Regions from separate parts of the Homo sapiens genome. Here regions 1 and 3 are each linked to region 2. The links are contacts of gene promoters, found by promoter capture Hi-C in blood cells and fetal thymus (Javierre and others, 2016). All regions are on one chromosome and are shown on one strand. The core of a region is centred on a gene start or on the middle of the fragment in contact, and the rest is flanking DNA. Distances in the headings are between cores, read along the strand shown. Region 1 overlaps ARHGEF10L (Rho guanine nucleotide exchange factor 10 like). Region 2 holds the start of IGSF21 (immunoglobin superfamily member 21). Region 3 overlaps ARHGEF10L (Rho guanine nucleotide exchange factor 10 like).

Region 1 (3,983 bases), core at 347-2,846, 420 kb after region 2:
AGGAATGAGAAGCAGAGGGACCCGTGGTGGGGGGCACAGCAATGGGACAGGCCAGAGCAGGTAGGGCCAGATTGCACCAGGCCACCTTGGAATCCATGGGGAACAGTTTAGATTTTATTTGCCCACTGGAGGGGGTTGAGCTGGTAAGTGACAGAGTCAGTTTTACTTTTAAAGAAGCTCAGTCTGACAACAGTGTGGGGAAGGCTGGCTTCTTTGTCCAGCCCCCGAAGACCTCGCGTGGGCTTAGCAAGTGGAGAGGGAGGAACAGGACTCAGCTTCTTTTGCCCTGGAGGATGGCCCCAGCTCCTTCCCAGCTCAAATCACTAAGCGGTTTCCCACTGAGTTAAGGAAGCTTGTGAGGGGCGGGGGTCTCCATGCGGAGCTAAGCCAGTGAGCTCCGGGCTCATTCCTGATCAGAGTGTGGGGACCAGGAGGGCAAGACTGTGAGCTGTCCAAGGAAATTGCTTTTTCTGAGCCAGTCCCTGATGGCTGAGCTGCGAGTAGCAAGGGAGGCAGGGGTAGCAGGAAAGGCCAGGCTCCCCAGAGGAGGGGAGGGGAGGGGAGAAGAGACAGCAGTGTGGTTCCTCTCCCCAGGGTCAGGCTGCTCTTGGAACAGGGGTTCTACTGCACAGCCCACCCCTGACCAGGGGGATGCCCCCAGAGCAGAAGCTGTAGTTTCCTCAGACCGAAAGTTCACCAAAGGCAGGGGTGCGGTGTCTCCATTGGGTGGGGGCCCCCCAAGAGCAAGGACAGAATCTTGTATCAAGCTGGGCATGCTCAGAGGAAGCGAACTGTCTCCTGTCTCAGATTGGGGGCTCAGGCTAAGGGCTCCAGAGGTATCGGGGGTCTCTTCCTCTTTTCTTAGCCACCCACTCCCGGCCCTCAGAGAAGGCCCAGGTGCAAGAGGCTCAGAGCCTCTGATTTTTGGGAGGAGGCCACGCCTCCTCACAGCCTGTGCAAAGTCAGGTTTAGTAGTCCATGCTGTGTAGGGGAGAGACCATGCCCCCATCTCTCTAGCCCTCCGCCCATATCTGCTGCCCACAGCCCGGGCCGTCCTGGCTTTCAGTTCTCTCTTCCTGCGATGTATGTTCCTTCAAGGAAACATGCAGAATGATTTTGTTTTGCCAAACCAGCCTGTAGGAGGAATCCAGGAGGAAGGAAACCTCCCATGAGGCCTTGCTGGGAAAAGCCAGCTGAGGCAGCATCAGCCCAAATCACAGATGAGGACAGTGAGGCCAAGGGGACCCCTTCAGCACCTGCTGTCGGCGAGCAGTGGGGCGAATGGATGGGGTAGCAGGACAGTCAGTGAGACCCAACATGCTTTGTCTGCAGGCTTTTCCAAAACACAGCACGCAGCTCCTTGCTCACGGATGCACAAACATGCACACACTGAGAGAGGTATCTGCATGCTCACACGCGTGCAGCCAGCCTGCCGCTCGACTCCCGAAGAAAGGTCAGAAGTATTTTCAGCCTCCGAAAAAGCCAAGCGCACTGAAACCCAGAGGCCTGGGACCAAGGAAAGCTGCACCTGAATCTGCAGCCAGCCAACCCTGTGTGCTGCTGTCAGAATCTAATTAAAAGAGAAGTCGGTGGTGGAAATCCAGGCTCATTTCTCCAGTGGCATAACAAGTCTGTCTCCAGGCCCAGAGGGCTTAGCAGAAGGCTTGTGCAAACCTGCTGAGCCCAAAGCGGGGAGGCCGGCGGGGGAAAGGGCAGGAATGAATAGGGAGAACAGCACAGCACCTCCAGCCCCAGCCCTAGCCCCAGCCCCAGCCTGGCATGTCTCAGCTACCTCTGGGCTCCTGGGTCCCCTTCTCACACCACGAGCCTGGAGTCCTGCCTGAGCCTCCTGGGCCCACAGGGCAGGGAGTAGGTGGAGCCAGAGAGACATGCCAGGATCACGGGTCCCAGAGGGGGCTGAGGGACTGAGCCTGGCACCCAAGTGAGAGCAGGGGGCAGTGAGCACCCGGGTGAGAGCAGGAGGCAGTGAGCACCCCGGTGAGAGCAGGGGGCAGTGAGCACCCCGGTGAGAGCAGGGGGCAGTGAGCACCCCGGTGAGAGCAGGGGGCAGTGAGCACCCGGGTGAGAGCAGGGGGCAGTGAGCACCCCGGTGAGAGCAGGGGGCAGTGAGCACCCGGGTGAGAGCAGGGGGCAGTGAGCACCCGGGTGAGAGCAGGGGGCAGTGAGCACCCCGGTGAGAGCAGGGGGCAGTGAGCACCACGGTGAGAGCAGGGGGCAGTGAGCACCGCGGTGAGAGCAGGGGGCAGTGAGCACCCCGGTGAGAGCAGGGGGCAGTGAGCACCCTGGTGAGAGCAGGGGGGAAGCCCTCACTGCTCACTGGTCTTGCTGCTGCCAGGCCATGCAGCTCATTTCATTTTCCAAACACAAGGTATCCACGTACCCTGAGAGAGCTCAGAATTCATTGCCAGGGGAGGCTGTCAGCTCATCAAACTCTGCTCTCCTCCCAACCAGAAAAGGGTGAAACCCTGCTCACCCAGCACCCCAATCCCAGGCCAAGCACCTCCAGACCTGTGCCCTCATCCTTGGCTGGTCTGGGAGGCCCAGAAGTGTGGGGTTGGTGGGGTCAGGGGCTGTCCTACTCTCTAAGAGGCCTCTAGCCCCCTTATCCCTGAAAAAGGCCACCTGCCCACCCACCACCAGGAATGCCCAGTGCTTCCTGCCCCCTCAGCCTCCATTATCCAGACACAGCTATTTACTGGGTGAGCGCTCACCCTGCACCAGAAACCGTGCTGTTAGGTTTATACACTAGAGCAGCCGTCTGCAAACAATGCCCCTCAGGCTACAACCAGCCTGCACCAGTTTTGGTAAATGAAGCTTTATTGGAACACAGTCACATCCGCATAGAAAAGAACCCATTCAAGTAGCTCAGGATCATGGCATTCCAACTGTACACCCCTGGTCCCTGCTGAAGGACAAAATGATCTGCAAGGGAAACCTCAACTTCCTTGGCAGGCTTGGAGGTGGTGGGGCAGGCACAGTGATTCTGAACCTATGTGGTGGGACTGAGATACACTGATGTTATTGGGAACCAGGGTTTGCACAGAGAGAAGAGAGTCCGGTGTGGAATGGGAGAGACGAGGGTAGACTCCAGGATCTCAAATCTAAATCAGAGGTATCAAAACGAACCCCAACTCGAGAGTTCTTCCCTGGCCCTGTCCACTGAAAGAGCCTGAAGGCAGTGACTCTAGCCAGGGTGCCCTGGAGAAATGCCTAGAACTTCTCACAGATGAAAAGCAAGGAAGGGCTCAAAGAACAATGGGGATGTGTCCAAAGGACCCAGGAGCCAACACGAAGGGGTCCCCGCTGGCCAAATTCAAGACAATGTGAACATCAAAAATAATAATGATGGTCCTGATTAGAGCACGCTGGATTTTTTTTTTTTAAATCTAGGAATTTGTAGTGATAGTAAGGGCAGGGTGTGGAGTGGGGTCAGGTGAATCTCTGTAACTAGTGACAACTAGTCAATGCAGAAGGCAAGGCAGAATTAGACAATGGTGAATTAGCAATCACCAAGGATCACCCATGGATGACAAAGCCCCAGGGGGAAAGTTTGTGGAGGAACTGGATATTCACACAGTCTCCAAGAATCACCCAAAGGTGACTGAGTAATCACAAAGGGAAACCAGCACCTTTAGAAGGAGAGATCCAGCCGACGCTACCCTAACCAAGTGATCAGGACGGGGCCAGCTGCTCTTCTTCCTCCCCGAGGACTGCTGTGGGAGGTGTAGGGCTCCCCTGACCCCCAGCCCCACAGCACCTGGCCGAACACTGGCAGCTCATTGGGAGGAAATAACCAGGCAATTCCAGACTGTGGAACTTCTATGAGACGCTGGCTTGGACTTGTCAACAAAGTCAATATCATGAAGAAAACAAAAAAGCAAAGGGATTATTCTAGATTAAAAGGAGACTTAAGAGACATGAAAACCAAAGGCTGCCTGTGATTTCAGGCTGGATCCTGGATG
Region 2 (4,491 bases), core at 1,836-4,335:
AACGTTTCCCAGGGCTGAACAGCGGCTAAGGACCACTCCTCCATCCCCAGCCCGGCGCCACTGCACAGGCTCCAGTGCAGGACTTCCCAGAAGTGCCCAGGCACGGTTCACGGGGGCTGGAGGAGTTGAAAACGCCCCAGGACACGCCCAGGAGTCCCGAGAAATGTGGGTTTCTCCTTTGGAGGGTCTGATTCTGGGAAGTGGGGAGCCAGGGCAAGGACTTCCGGCCCAGCCAGTGCGAGGGGCAGCGGCCTCCTTCCTCCTGCCAGACCCGACTCTCTAGCGTCGGGCACCCTTGCTCTGCCACCCAAAGGGGCAGAACCGGCGAGGGCGTTCTGGCCGTGCCCCTCCCCGAGCAGTGACCGCCAGTACGTTCGTGAAGGCCGGCGCGGGTTGCTCCTCTCTGCGCCCTCGGAGGCAGGTGGCCCTGCAAAGCCGCTGCCAGGTGCACCTCTCTCGGCCACCTCCAGGAAGGGCGCCCTCCTCCGGCACAGCCCGCCTCTTGCGTCTCTCACGGACTCTTCTCGCACCCCGCCCCCCATTCTGGGCACAGACTTGGAAGGAGGAAGGAGGGACCCCACCCTCGTGTGCTCTCCTCTGCGGAGAAGAGAGGGCTCCCGGCTGCCTCGGATCTCCCTCTGCGCCCCAGACGCGGAAAGTTTCCCATTCGCGATCCGCGTCTGCGCTCTTCCTTCATCCTGAGCAGCGGAGCTCCGAGGCCGCGCTGGCTGCACCGGCCCAGATGCGCTCACCCTCAGGCACGCCAACCCCCGCCTCCCGCAGCCCGCAGAGGCGGGCAAAGGGATTTGAGGCGTCAGGATGCCGGGTCAGCTCTCTGCAGCCGGGCAGCCAGAAGAACCCTGCTCCCGGGTTCCAGGGAGAGCTCGCAGGGTGGGGTCCTGACGGAGCCAGGGTTTCCCAACAAGCCCTTCTCATCAGTCCTCTCCTTCACCCTGCCGCGTCTCTCTGTTCTGCGCATTCCCAGGGAAAGGGGTGCTTACCTTAGGTCCCCAGCCTCCAACCCCCGCCCCCTGCAATGTCCAGGTGAGGGCTCCAGTGCCTTTCAACAAACCCCAGTGCCCTCTCGGCGGCGCTGGAACGAGGACCTCCCCCATGTAACCTTTCCCTCTAGAGCCCTCCTCCCAAAGTTGAGGGGGGACATTTTGATCCACTTAGGAAAGTCTCTTGTTCCAAGGGTAGGGGAACAAAGTACAGGGTTTGCATTCCTTCTGGGTTACACCAACCCCTCCCCCCTCGCTGTCAGGACCACCTTCCGGGCTCAAATTCTGCAGCTTCTCCCATCAGCAGACCCAGCACTCCCCAAGGACTTCGGGGTAGAAGGAGTTGGGGTTATTTTTAAGGGGGCACCCCTTCCTGGCAGGCACTCTCAGAGCCTAGGTAGGCACCTCCTGCTGGGACAAGGCTATGGCATAGGACAGAGGTGATGCCCACCTCTATCATCCAGTGGGGCTCGGGGTCGAGACCTTATTGATCATAAAGACGACTTTTTGGCACCTCGCGTCCCGCTCCCCTCCGAGGCGGAGCCAGGCTCTGACTCCAGCCAGGCTGAGGTTGGCACCAGGCTCCGAGGAGGATCCCGGACGCGGAGCCTGTAGTCTCGGTGCCTGCGGCTCTTCGCTGGTCCCGCCTCCCTCCCTCCTGGCTTTTAGCCTCACGTTGGCTCTCTGCTCACTGCGCGAAAGGGTTCAGCTCCATTTAAGACCCACTACGCGGCGGCACTGGGTGGGAGGCCGGCCGCGGACCCTGGGGCTGCGGAGCCACCTCTCACTGGCTCCGGAGAACCCGCTCGGCTTCAACCTCCTTCTAGCTGTCTTAGCCTAACCCGGGAGCAAGTCCACACGGCGGGACACACACACACACACACACACACACACACTGAGCTGCTCACAACTCCCCAGCCCCGGAAGCGTCCATACCTCCCTGCACACGATAACCACACGCTCCATGGCACGCATACACACACTCCCAGCCCCATGAAGCCCACGACTCCCAGGCACCTGCACCCCCACCCATCCCACATAAGCAGACTCTTGTCCAGTGTCACAGTCCCATCTCCTGTGCACACAGAAATAGTAATCCGCTGTCGTACACCCCTAGAGACCTGCACACTCGGGACACACGTGAAACGCCAAACCTCACATACCCACCCCCTAACACCTCACACCCACAGTGACACAAGCTCACACACTTCACACCCTCACAGGGAAGGTGGCACATGTTCACACCCTCCCCCCAACATTCGCTCACACTCTCACACACACACCTTCTCCATGTAACTGACACAGACACTCTAACACCCATCCAGACCCTCGCTCACTCACACGCAGACCCCACACCATCACACACACACGCACACACACACTTGCATCTCTAAATACACTCCCGCACCTTCTGCCCACACAGCTCCTTCCCGGACACCCTCACCCAGACACACAACAAAGACACACAATTTACACACACACACACACCCTGGCACAAATCCATGAGCGCTCTCCAAGAGGCGTCCTCCCTCCCTCATCGAGCCAACCAGCTCCACAGACCCCGGGCAGGACCGGTGCTCGTAGCCCGAGCCTCTCGGAGCGACCCCGGCCAGCGCCCTCCCCCGGCACCCCGTCCCCGCGCACGTTCACCGCTCGGCTCCCGCCAGGCGCCCGCGCACTCACCGCGCGCCAGGTCCAGGATCGCGGCGAGCAGCAGGCAGACGCAGCGGCGGAGGCTCGGGGCGGTTCGCATGGTGCCCGGGAGCTGGCGGCGGTGGCGGGGCGGCGGGGGTGGAGGCGGTGGCGGCGGGTCCCCTCGCCATGGGCTCAGACGCGCTCCTGCCTCCGGCCACTGGCCGAGGCGGTGGCGGGCAGCGCGGAGAGCCGCGGGGGCGCCCCCATGCCGCCGCGGCCAGGCAGCCCGGGCGCCCGGCTCGACTCGGCTCCGGCTCTGCGAGGCGCAGCGACCCTCGCGCTCTGGGCGTCCTCGGGGCTCGCCGCGGTTCTCGGCTCCCTAGCTGCGCGCGGTGCCCACCGCGGCCCAGAGTCCGATCGGCTGCAGCGCCGGAGTTTGGAGCCGAATCGCGCTCTCTGCCTCGCGCTCGCCTCTCCCGGCGGCGCGAGCACCCCCCTCCTCTCGCCCTCCCTCCGTCCCTCCCCCTCTCCCCGCCCCCCCGCCCTCCTTGCCCTCCCCTCGCCGCGCTCTCCGCGTATTATACAGACTTTTCTTTAATCCTTTCTGGGCTGTTCGGCTCTCGTCCGCTAAGCCGATTTATTGCAGGGAGAAGGAGAGCTCACCCCCTCCTAACCTCCCCTCTCCCCTCACTCAGGTCCCCCCTCACTCAAAACTGGCTTGCTGCCTCCAGCTTCTTAACCCTTACCCAGGTGACCCAACACCCCGCCCTGGAAGCTATGCTCCATCGGATCCGCCTTTACCTAGCCCCTCCTATCCCCGGGATTACCATCGCCCTCCCCGCTACTCAGCCTGATGAAAGGAGGCAGCCTCCCTCCCGAGAGGGAAAGATGCCATCCTGGGAGCAGGGCAGGCAGGGTGTGGCTCTGGAGTTCTGACCTTGCCAACGATGAATGCCCTCATTGGGCAAGATTAAGGGGTTTCCATGTTCTGAAACTTCCCCAATTACGGCTGCTCCTTCCCCCAGGGACCCACGGAAATGGGGTGTGTTCTGTCTTTTTCCCATGTGCTAGGATCCAGCCAGGAAGGGTGAGGAACTGATTGTTTCCTCCTGGCAGAGACCAAGTTTCCACCTTTTTGCCAGACCTGACAGCTTTTCTTCCCAGGTCCGAGAAGAACAGGTTTGGGACTTGTATGTTACCATTACTCTCCCACCAACACACACGCGAGCACACACACACACACACACACACACACACACACACCATTGAGCCTCAGCCCTGGCGGTGGACTTTGAGGCCTCCTGCGAGGATGAAGGGGAGGGGTACTCTAGCCCTTGGAGTGGACTGGGGATGTGGTTAGATGAGGAAGTTCAGGAGATAGAATTTCACCATTGGTAGGGACCCAGAAGATTGGCAAAGCCCAGAAAAACCAGCACGACCAGGGGCAAAACCTGCTCAGAACTCAGGTGGGTCCCTTTACCCAGGCCTTCTATGGAGAATCTCCAGCTTCCCTAGCTCTGGCAGGTTGCTGAGTCAGGCTGTTGCATCGTTTACCTACATGGGCAATGGGTCTATAGCCAGTTCCATCTCCAGCAGCCCTCTGAGAGGAGTGTAGGGAGTGGGGTGGGCAATGGGTGGTTGCTGGGCTGCCTCTGGGTGAGCTTTGTGCAGAGATGTCCATGAAAGTGAACTGCTCCCTCCTCCTGCCCTCTGGAACCTCACCCCATCGCCTCCCAAGGCAGCTCTGCGGCTCAGCTTGCTCACCCACCCCAGAAGGAGCGATTTGCATTTATGAAGATCTGAAAGCATACGTTCACCTGACAGGCTTTAGAATGATCCTCTCAGTAAAATAATA
Region 3 (4,149 bases), core at 29-2,528, 470 kb after region 2:
CTCCTGTGGTGGGCATTCTGGGGCTAAGGTGGTGCTGGGGGGAGGCTGGGTCCAGAGAGAGGAAACCCAGGGCCTGGCCTGGGGGCCTAGATAGGCTGAAGTGACTGAAAAGGACACAGCGCAAATGGAACTGACCAATGGCAGAGTGTCTGAGTATCCTAACAGTGGGCCAGGCTTATCCAGGACATGACCAGGCTGTTCATTAATTCATTCATTCATTCCACAGTCTTTTCATGAGCACCTACTGCGTGCCAGATGCTATCCCAGACATGGCCCACGATGCCTACATATCCACTCCCACCATGGCATCTCGACAAATAAGAGGGCTCCAGGTACCCTCTCCGGATCCCCTGCTCCACTGGAAGCCCAGCAGAGGCAGCAGCCCTCCCTCCAAGACCCCCTCCTCTCACTTGTCGGGTTTCCCAGGAAGCAGGAGCCTGAGACGGCACTTGTTGGCCGAGTGGATCTCTTCCTCCTTCACCCGCATCAGCCTCTGCAGGGCCAGGCACCAGTCTTGAGCCACAGTCATGTTCAGGTTCTAGGGTTCAGGAGGCCAATGAGGTCACCACACAGCACACTGGCTCCCCAAAAGCCACACCAGATCCTATAGGAATCACAGCACCCCAGAGGAAGAGAAACTGAAGAAGTCCTGGAGCCTCACTGAGGCTGCACATTTAGCCCCACGCAGGAGGCCAACTCGCCATGCCCCAGGCTTCCCAGCCCTGGGCTCAGATCCCACCTGGAGCCCTCCTCTGAGAGGGACATGCCGTCGCAGCCAGCTTCCCCTCCACACTGGGTAGAGGCCCAGGAGGGGCCACATAACGGAATGGCCACTGTGCAGAGAACAAACAAAGGCCCCACAGCCAGGCTCCACTCAACCCAAACCAGAGGATGCGCCCGAACCAGCGGCCGCAAAAGAGACTTCCAGGCAGGGACATGGAGCTTCAGCAGCGACAGTTGCCAACAGGAGCTCAGAAGCTAGGAGCACATCGGGGACATGGGCCAGGAGAGGAGCCCCTCCCTACTCAGCTTTCTGAATCCAGGCACTGCCCACACTGGGGAGCTCAGGCCAAAAAGGTCAGGCCAGGCCACGTACCTGGTAGGTGCCGTGCAGCGTGCTGATGAGAAGCGTGATCTGCTCCACCACGGCCAGGTCCTTCTGCAGGTCCTGCAGCTCCTGGAAGAGGCGTGGGGGGCCGAGGTACACCTTATCTGGGCAGAGAAGAGACCAACTCAGGCACAGGTGAAGGCGCTAACAAGAAGCCAAGCATCTGCTCACAACAAAAAAGATCCAGAGGCTGGGCGCGGTGGCTCACGCCTGTAATCCCAGCACTTTGGGAGGCCGAGGCAGGCAGATCACGAGGTCAGGAGATCGAGACCATCCTGGCTAATACGGTGAAACCCCGTCTGTACTAAAAAATACAAAGAAAAAAATTAGCCGGGCATGGTGGCGGGCACCTGTAGTACCAGCTACTCAGGAGGCTGAGGCAGGAGAATGACGTGAACCTGGGAGGCGGAGCTTGCAGTGAGCCGAGATCACGCCACTGCACTCCAGCCTGGGTGACAGAGCAAGACTCCAACCCAAAAAAAAAAGAAAGAGTTCCAGAAAGTAACATCCAGTTCCTACCCTGACCAGAGCGCCCAGACTAGCTGGGAAGCCAGATCCTTTCAAGAGTAAAGTCTAACACCTGAGATCCAGGCCATAGTCAGTCTGTACAAAGGGCTGTATGAGACCACAAGACCAAGAGCAAGCTGTGCCTGGGAGAGAGGAGGGGCCTGCATAGGGCTGGAAGTGTGGTGGGCACTGCCAGGAGAGAAAGACAAGAGCGTGTGCAAAGGCACTGTGGCTTGAGGCAGCCCATGAACAGCAAGTTGTTCAAAGACATCCTGAGGACCTATCGTGTGCCAGACTCCATGCTAGAGACTGGAGACAGCAGTACACAAGACAGACAGGGTCCTCATTCTTCCGGAGCTTATGACCTTGGCAGGACAAGTGGCGGAGGAAGCAGTCAGTTAACAATGGTGGGTGGTAGGAGGTGGTGGGGAGAAAGATATCAGTGTGGTGGGACAGTGATGGGGTGAGGGGGCCCAGATCACCAGTGATGATACAGATGGAGTAAGGGTGAGATGGGGGTAGGGGGTGGCAGGTAGAGATAGAGCAGGAGGGTCCAGGAGGACCAGATGGGGAAGGCCTTGAACGCTAGGCCCCTGGGCTAGGAATTTGGACTGTATTCTCTAGGCCGTGGTTTTGCACACTGAGGTCTTATGAAGCCCCAGGGGAGTGGAGGGGAAGCCTTATTTGGGGTTTTCATTTAGATAATTATCTGAGTCACCTGTGTGGAATGAGTTTAAAGCCACACTCTGCTGCCTGATATCAAGGCTTCCATGGACTATGGCACCTGAATGGTCACCTGGTAACAAGCAAAGAGCATGGCGAGCTTGGGATGTGGACAATGTGCTCACATCAGAGGGGCTCTGCAGTGACCCAAACTGGGGAGCTCATGGGAAATGCAGATCCCCACAGGGCACCCTGTGGCACAGGCACGAAAGCGCAGAGGAACCTGCTCTACCAGGGCCTGAGCCACATCCACACTGTGAACAAATTGGTTTCAGCAAAACAACATCATCCATCACATTACATTAATGCTGTTAATTTGAATGTTATGGTTTTGTAGCTTTATTTTTATTCAATTTGTGATTTGGTGTTGGTTTTATGGTTCTTCAAGGGCTATAAGCAGAAGGAGTTGATTACAGGGAGTTTTGCGTTTGTATATATTTGAATAACAATATAATGAAGGGTTCCACAAGAACTTCTTTCCCCTTTCGAAGGGGTCTGGCAGTACGTGACTCTGGTTTGAGGAATGCGGCCACAGACACATCATTGTCACCGAAGGAGGGATCCCCTAAGCGTCCCTGGAGTGCATGAAGGATGCTAGACCGCATGACCAGCAGAAAGGAACCCTGTGCCCCAAGCGGCGGGGAGGGAGTGCAGTTGAGCCAGGGCAGAAGGTGCCTCCGAGGAAGGCACGTGGGGCAGAGGACTCTTCCTACCCAGCAGAGCTGAGGAAAGAGACAGCATCTGGAAGTGGGCACAGCTGTCACGGACCAGCACCCAGACGGCAAGAGTAGGTGGTGCAATCACTCCCTCAGAATTTCCAGAATTGTGGGTGGCCCATGAGGCAGCCTCCTGGGTCAGACAGCAGACAGAGGGGGAAGTGAAACCCCAGTGCCTTTCTCACCCACAGAAGATGCCTCGGGCACCAGGGTTCCTTTCTGCTGCAATTTAGCATCCTGCATGCATTCAAGGAACACTTATTAATGCCCACCGTACCCTAGGCTCCTGGACAGAGCTGCAGCCAGGCTGAGAGGAGAGACATCAACCGATCAATCACCCATAAAGGGGAAAATGTACCAGAGGTCTCGAGAGCACAGGAGGGGCGACCTGGCCCAGCATGAGGGCATAAGAAAAGGCTTCTCTGAGGAAGTGCCATTTGAGCCAAGAGCAGATGAGACAAAAACAGGATGGCAGGAGAGTACTTGGCAAAAGGCACAGGCTGGAGAGGGCGTGGTGGGAGGGAGCATGGCCCATCCAGGAGCCCAGAGGGGCTGGCATGGCTGCAGCAGAGAGAAGGGGCAGAGGGAGGTGAGTGAGGCAGGTGGTACACCCTCAGGACCGGCAATGGGAAGCCACTGGGGCGGGATGACGTGCACTGATCTGACCTGCATTTGGAAGAATCAGCCCTGGGGATGGGCAGAGGATGGACAGGGAGGGGGCCCAGGTAGGAGGAGGGAGGAAGAGCAGCCAGGTAGCTGGCACAGCAGGACAGAGTGTGTGGCAGCCAATGTGAAGGTGGAGCAAAGTGTGTGGATTGGGAGATGCACCTGCGCACACCCAGGTGAGGCCATGGCTCTGCATTAAGGTCCAGGGTGGGGCTGCAAAACCAGCAAGAGCTTCCTGGCCAAGCCACCCATCAGCCTATGTAGGGGTCCCCAAGACAGGGCCAAGCCTGGGTAGGAGCAGCCCAGGCTGTGGCTGGTGAGGGCGAGGGTGACGAACGCAGGGCACAGAGAGGGGGTACTCACTCTGAGCCTGCCCTGAGGCAGAGGCCTTCTTGGCGCCTGAGTGCTGGATGAGCACATTGTCCTTGT

The links. Contacts are between HindIII fragments. The CHiCAGO score rates a contact against its expected background, and 5 or more counts as called.
Region 1: a fragment that was not itself captured here is called in contact with the fragment with the promoter of IGSF21 in region 2 in 4 of 17 cell types (endothelial precursors, naive CD4 T cells, naive CD8 T cells and 1 more); the score reaches 8.8 in endothelial precursors.
Region 3: a fragment that was not itself captured here is called in contact with the fragment with the promoter of IGSF21 in region 2 in 3 of 17 cell types (naive CD8 T cells, naive CD4 T cells and non-activated CD4 T cells); the score reaches 6.6 in naive CD8 T cells.

What each region holds. Positions count from the first base shown.
Region 1 is chr1:17,681,410-17,685,392 of GRCh38, reverse strand. The region is part of intron 26 of ARHGEF10L (Rho guanine nucleotide exchange factor 10 like); the gene reads right to left. Among named protein-coding and RNA genes, the nearest start is that of LINC02810, 34 kb to the left of the region's middle. RefSeq lists enhancers at 766-1,367, 2,154-2,714. The HindIII fragment of the contact is 2,483 bases long and covers 355-2,837 here.
Region 2 is chr1:18,106,392-18,110,882 of GRCh38, reverse strand. IGSF21 (immunoglobin superfamily member 21) reads right to left here and starts at 3,085. Exons shown (of 10, transcript NM_032880.5): 1 at 2,685-3,085. The coding sequence starts at 2,754. The HindIII fragment of the contact is 15,130 bases long and covers 1-4,491 here.
Region 3 is chr1:17,634,951-17,639,099 of GRCh38, reverse strand. It overlaps ARHGEF10L (Rho guanine nucleotide exchange factor 10 like), which reads right to left. Exons shown (of 29, transcript NM_018125.4): 18 at 4,084-4,149; 19 at 1,097-1,212; 20 at 411-538. Among named protein-coding and RNA genes, the nearest start is that of LINC02810, 81 kb to the left of the region's middle. The HindIII fragment of the contact is 6,979 bases long and covers 1-4,149 here.